2 separate regions of the Homo sapiens genome follow, and region 2 is linked to region 1. The links are contacts of gene promoters, found by promoter capture Hi-C in blood cells and fetal thymus (Javierre and others, 2016). All regions are on one chromosome and are shown on one strand. Each heading gives the region's core, a stretch centred on a gene start or on the middle of the fragment in contact. The rest is flanking DNA. Distances are from core to core; before and after follow the strand shown.

Region 1 (3,449 bases), core at 504-3,003:
ACACAAGTAGTAAGGCAGGAAACAGGGTTTCCAGGTGTTTAGGATATAGACAAAAATAAGACAATACATGTATTTGCCCTTATGGAGTTGATAAACATATTTAATTTGCTCTCCAATTAACGAAAGTATATTCAGTGAGCACCTATTCTCAGTACTGGCCCAGATGCATTATTATTGTACTAAATTATCTGCACTATTATTATGCACTAAATTATCTCTTCACAATCAGTCTTTCTAAAAGGAAGATTTTTATATTAAAACAAAAAGCCACTGGAAAAGGAAGTAAGTTTGAATACAAGCAAACAAAAACAGAAAGTAAAGCAGAAATACAGTTTAGCAAGCCACATGTTGAAAAGCACTAAGCAGTAAGTATTGTGATTTCTTTTTTTTTTTTTCTTAGACGGAGTTTCGCTCTTGTTGCCCAGGCTGGAGTGCAATGGCGCATCTCAGCTCACTGCAACCTCTGCCCCCCAGGTTCAAGTGATTCTCCTGCCTCAGCCTCCCAAGTAGCTGGGATTACAGATGCCTGCCACCACACTCGGCTAATTTTTTGTATTTTTAGTAGAGATGGGGTTTCACCATTTTGGATAGGCTGGTCTTGAACTCCAGACCTCAGGTGATCCACCCACCTCGGCCTCCCAAAGTGCTGGGATTACAGGCATGAGCCACTGGGCCCGGACTTTTCACCACCGATGACTTTGTAATTCACTCAAAAACCTATTACAAAGTTAGGAGTTACAGGACAATTACAATTTAGTAACTGCTGTGGCTGGCAACAGTTACTTACATAACGGGTGATGTGAAAGGTCCCAAGAGCAAACTCAGTAAGGTCACACAGAATATATCTTTCCCTCCTTCATCTACTAGAGGGAATATATTTTTCCCTCTTCCTTCTACTCTCATTTTTCCTCACCAGTCACCTCCCAGACAAAAAGCAGCCAGTGTTACTTCCTGGGAGTAAAGCTGGCAACGATACCCACTAATTAAGCATTCAGATGTCCCGCAAGGGTAGAACAGGCAGAGGTCAAGTGGAATGCAGAATATTCTCAGGACTCAGGAGCCAAATTACGTTTCAAGTAACTCTAGGACCAGGGCAGAGAGATGGCTGTTAGAGAGAAGCACGAGATTGAAGAGAAAGGAAAAATGTATTAGATTTCACTTAGCGTATGATAAGACTATGGTATAGTGGGAAAAGCTATGAGCTGGAAGGACCCTCTGTCATTATCAGCCTTGTAGTCTTGTCAAGCCTTGTCACCTCACTAGTCTCCATCTACTCACCTCCAAATTAACGGGAATTAAGTAGATTGGATTTCTGAGTTCTGACTAGGGGGGCTCCAGGAAGCCGCAACTACCCACTCTCCCGGCAGAAAGTCACCAGCAGCTGCGCGTTTGGGAGCATAGTCGGCACAGGACTTTTCCCCGAAGCACAGGAGCCAGCGGCTACAGCCACTAGGCAGTCCACTTGCAAACGCAGGTTGTGCCCGGGTTCTCTTTCTTTGGCTGCAGGTCTTCAGGTGTTATGGGCCTAACTCTTCCGCTACAAGTGTCCCTCCCGCAAAAAATGGGTCCGGGGGACCTGCACACCCTCAGAGCCCTCGTCCACAGCCCCACACTCAACAACAATGTCAGGTGCTTACGCGGAGATCTCCTTCCCGTTCAGGATTTCTGCTGGCGCCATGGCCTTTATTAGTCCGCTGCCCACGATGGACACCACCAATATCGAGGTTCCACTCCCTCCGCAGCCAAGCAGGACAACCCAACCCACGTGCTTAGGGACTGGCCAGGGGATCACACTACTGCGCCTGCGCCCCTGCCCGCTTCTCCCCCTGCAGACGCGGTGGCGCATGCGCAGTTCGGAAGGACCCGAGTCCCTTAACTAACCGAGAGCTAACAGGTCGGGGACTGCGGGACGGAAGAGGGAGGGGAAGATGAAGAAAATCGGTGATGAATGGCTGGCGGAAATGATTGGCGGAAAGAAAGAGCCAGTTCACAGTGCGCCTTTGTATTCGGCGGGAAACCCGGCCGAAGAGGGAGCTGGAAAGGACTCCGGAATCCGGCCGTAATTCCAGCCAATCAGGGAGTAGAGTTGCGGGGCGGGGTTGGGGCGGGGCAGTCTCGCGGGAGATAGTTTCGCGGGTTCGGGAGGCGAGTCTCCGGTTTCCGCCCAGTCTCTGGGGACGCGGTGGCGGGGTCTGAATCGCCTGGCTTCCAGGGAGTTTTGGGCGGGTCCCCGCACGGGAGCGTGGCAGGCGCTGGACTCGACAGCAGATGTGGAACTGGAGAGCTTGGCGCGCCCTCATACTTTGTCACACACCTACGCCACCAGACTGGGGTCGGGCCCCTCCGCGTTCTGCTCTGGAGGGCCTGGGTCTGGGCCCAGCATAGCGCTTTTAGAATCTCCTCAGCTGAATCTGACGCTCAGCCGTAGGTGAAGCTTAGCCCGCTGTTTCAGGCCCCGCCGATCTGGAAGGAGTGTCAGAGCTGGAGCGCGCGTGGCCTCATCGGTGTTGGGGTCACCCCGGGGTTGCCAGGGCTCATGGAGGGTCGTAGTCTGGATTTTGTCACCCCCACGTCCCCGCCCCGCAGCAAGTCTGGGGTTGGAGAACTCACGCGGTCTTCGTAAGCTACATGCCAGTTGACCCTCGAGGAGGGATGCTCCCTCCCCTTAAGCGTCCACGCTGGAGAAGGAGTAAGATGGACAATTGCCTGGGGAGCCTGACAGGGCGGTGGCAGCTGGGATGCTGGAGAGGACTGGCCCCTTGTGTTACTGAGTCCAAGGAATATGCTTGCTCTGCTCTAGGAACCGCGTTCAGGTTACAGTCATCCCAGTAGAGTCCTGAAGATGCGTGGTTCAGGTCACTTAGGACTTGACCAGATACCGGGTTTCTTTTACAAGCCGTTTACTACTGGCAGAGCTCATCTAAAACTTTTTTTGTTTGTTTGTTTGAGACGGAGTCTCATTCTGTCGCCCAGGCTGGAGTGCAGTGGCACGATTTTGGCTCACTGCAACCTCCGCTTCCCGGGTTCAAGCAGTTCTCTGCCTCAGCCTCCCGAGTAGCTGGGATTACAGGCACCACCTAATTAGCCCGCCACCACGCCCGGCTAATTTTTGTATTTTTAGTAGAGACGGGGTTTCACCATCTTGGCTAGGCTGGTCTTGAACTCCTGACCTCGTGATCCACCCGCCTCGGCCTCCCAGAGTGCTGGGATTACAGGCGTGAGCCACCGCACCTGGCCTAAAACTGATTTTTTATTAATTTTGGGGCTTTTAATATTTTTTTCTTATTTCTAAATTCTGAGGTTATTTATAGTAGCCCCATATACGGGATTAGATAATCTCTTGTGATTTTCTATTTCTGGTAATTATTTCTAATATATGTTTTTTTGTTTTTGAGACGGAGTCTCGCTATGTCGCTCAGGGTGGAGTGCAGTGGCATGATCTCCGCTCT
Region 2 (3,032 bases), core at 483-2,982, 110 kb before region 1:
GCCAAGCAGGACTTTCAGCTGCCCTCTATGCCTTACAAAGTGGAGCTGTGAGCTTCCACCCTATCTCCTGAGGGGAATGTGAAGGAGCCAGGCTGTCTAGCTGGGGAGGAGGTGCCTTGGCCGTAAAATATCCTGGCCAGGGCTGTGCTGGGAAGTGTTGCATAATGTCCTCCCCACCACTGAACCAAAGTGATTTATTTGCTATGGTCCGTAGGTGGTGCCTGACCAACTTGTCCATTTTAGCAATAACAGGGCCAGAAAAGAGTTGGGGGTTTTATATTATTGCAGGGTTTTTCCTTGTTTTAAAAAAGCAGTGCAGGTGCTCTTATCTTGATAAGTTATAAAGTGCTTCTTTCTGCACCACTTCCTGTGCCCCTTTTCTGTGTATTTATTCCAAATAGCATGTGAACTTCAGTCTTTTAAGAAGAGAAAGCTAAGAAAATATTGCTCCAGTTTATTAGCACAGGCTATGGAGACAGACCTGGCTTTTTATCTCCACTTTATACCATTTGCTGATTGTGTGTCCTAAGCTTAGGATTTTTCCTCATTTGTAAAATGGAAATGAAAATAATACATTAGTCATCACAGTGACGATTTTAAGAGATAGTGTATATAGAGCACTTAGCACAAGGCCTCGCATATAGTATTTATTATAATAATAGGTTTTGAAAATAACCAGAATAGTATTCTCCCTAAAAAGGAAAGATATTGCTACTTGAACCTGCTTAGGGATAGAGGAGGAAGAAGAAAGTGTTTGTAACAAACATCAGTTTCAGGATTATTGATTAAATTTTTTTATACTTCTGGGGTTTTTTTTGTTTGTTTGTTTTTTGAGACAGAGTCTACCTCTGTCACCCAGGCTGGAGTGCAGTGGTGTAATTTCAGCTCACTGCAGCCTCCGCCTCCTGCATTCAAGCGATTCTCTGGCTTCAGCCTCCCGAGTAGCTGGGATTACAGGCGCCTGCCACCACACCTGGCTAATTTTTGTATTTTTAGTAGAGACAGGGTTTCGCCATGTTGGCCAGGCGGGTCTTGAACTCCTGACCTCAAGTGATCCGCCCACCTTGGCCTCCCAAAGTGCTGGGATTATAGGTGTGAGCCACTGTGCCTGGTCCATGTTTTCTTTATCCATTTGACTATCCATGGACATTTGAGTTTTTCCCCCTTATTGGCAATTCTTCTGCCTCAGCCTCCCAAGTAGCTGGGATTACAGACGTCTGCCACCACGCCCAACTAATTTTTGTATTTTTAGTAGAGACGGTTTCACCATATTGGCCAGGCTGGTCTTGAACTCTGACCTCAGGTGATCCACCCTCCTCGGCCTCCTAAAGTGCTGGGATTATAGGCATTTATTTACCGTTCTGCTTTCCCTTTGCTAGCAGGAATTTTCTTTCTCTCTCTCTCTCTTTTTTTTTTTTTTTTTTTTTTGCTTTATTGGGAGAAAAAGTGCTTAGAGTGTTCAGTTATTTTTTATATTTTTCTAATTCATTTCTTCTCTGGTTACAAATCAGTCATGCATGGATGTTTTATTTTTTCTGAAATCTCCAAGCACTTTAAGCAAAGGTTTTTATTAGCCCACTTGAGTAGTGTGTTCATGGGAGTATACTTCCATTGCGAAAGAAGTATTGGTTTACTTGTATCCAGAAGTTTTAGTTACTCTTGCCTGTACTGTATTCTAGGTCTGTACTAGCATTATAATTTTCCATCTTTCTCCTGTCCTTTGAGTACCTTATTTTTTCTTTTAGAAATTTGGTTTGTCTTTAATGGACTGAGAGGAATCTTTTCCTTTCTTTCTCCGGGTTCTGATTTTTTTTAAAGGTCTATTAACAATTTGTGCTTACTGTTGTTAGTATTCTTGTGTGCTTGGCTTTATCAGGCATCCTACAATGTAATGTTGGTTAGATGGGAATTAGAGGTGCTTGGAGGTTGGCTATGTCTGCCAACAGGCAGGAGGCCCCAAACTAACGTTTCCCAGTTCCATTAAAGGTTTCTAGAGCATAACTACTCTTCCTGTTTCATCTACCCCCTCCATACCCTCTTTGCTAACATTCTCAGTAGATCTTAATAAGCAGATGTCTGGAATTACAGCAGATTTTACCTCAAACAGTATTTTCAGATTTAGAATTTCTGTATCATTTTTAGGTGTTATGAAATCCAATCTAGGTGTAATGGAGTAAGAGAGTAAATATTTCTTTTTCCTAAATACTATTTGAAAAGAAGTCTGAAAATAGTGTGTTCCTCCACCCCCCCACCCATGCCCATCCTGCCAGTTTAGGAGCACTTTTGATTCTTTTTTTTCTTTTTCTTTTTTTTTTTGAGATGGAGTTTCACTCTTGTTGCCCAGACTGGAGTGCAATGACACAATCTCAGCTCACCACAACCTCTGCCTCCTGGGTTCAAGCGATTCTCCCGCCTCAGCCTCCCGAGTAGCCGGGATTATAGGTATGTGCCACCACACCTGGCTAATTTTGTATTTTTAGTAGAGACGGGGTTTCTTCATGTTGGTCAGGCTGGTCTCGAACTCCCGACCTCAGGTAATCCACCTGCCTCGGCCTCCCAAAGTGCTGGGAGCGAGCCACCATGCCTGGCCATGGAGCACTTTTGTTTCTTAATCTGGCCAATATTTTAAGGTTACAATTAGAATTACAGTTGTTTATATTTGTTCATTTAATGTAGTCAACATAATTTCCATACTTTGAACACTCTTACGGAATTGTTTATTTATAGAGACTAGTATAAAGTTGTTCTATCTTACTTAGTTTGAACTAATCCAGAGTTATACAATCTAGAAAGTAAAGAAAGTTTTTATTGTCTCTTAAATATCAATGTAATTGTAGAGTGTGAAATAATTTCTTGGGTTTCCTTGGTCCCGTGTTCTTCTGAGGCAGTGGTTCTTAACTGAGCAGTCACGTTAGAATCACCTGGGAAGCTTTTTAAAAAAAGAATCTGGGCTGGGCGCGGTGGCTCACGCCTGTAATCACAGCACTTTGGGAGGCCGAGGCGGGTGGATCATGAGGTCAGGAAATCGAGAC

The links. Contacts are between HindIII fragments. The CHiCAGO score rates a contact against its expected background, and 5 or more counts as called.
Region 2: a fragment that was not itself captured here is called in contact with the fragment with the promoter of MTHFD1 in region 1 in 1 of 17 cell types (fetal thymus); the score reaches 6.3 in fetal thymus.

Annotation. Positions count from the first base shown.
Region 1 is chr14:64,386,657-64,390,105 of GRCh38, reverse strand. It overlaps MTHFD1 (methylenetetrahydrofolate dehydrogenase, cyclohydrolase and formyltetrahydrofolate synthetase 1), which reads right to left and starts at 1,753. Exons shown (of 28, transcript NM_005956.4): 1 at 1,638-1,753. The coding sequence starts at 1,678. RefSeq lists enhancers at 1,901-1,990, 2,511-2,570, 2,591-2,690. The HindIII fragment of the contact is 3,471 bases long and covers 1-2,436 here.
Region 2 is chr14:64,498,851-64,501,882 of GRCh38, reverse strand. The region is part of intron 1 of ZBTB25 (zinc finger and BTB domain containing 25); the gene reads left to right. Among named protein-coding and RNA genes, the nearest start is that of ZBTB25, 3.5 kb to the left of the region's middle. The HindIII fragment of the contact is 2,399 bases long and covers 533-2,931 here.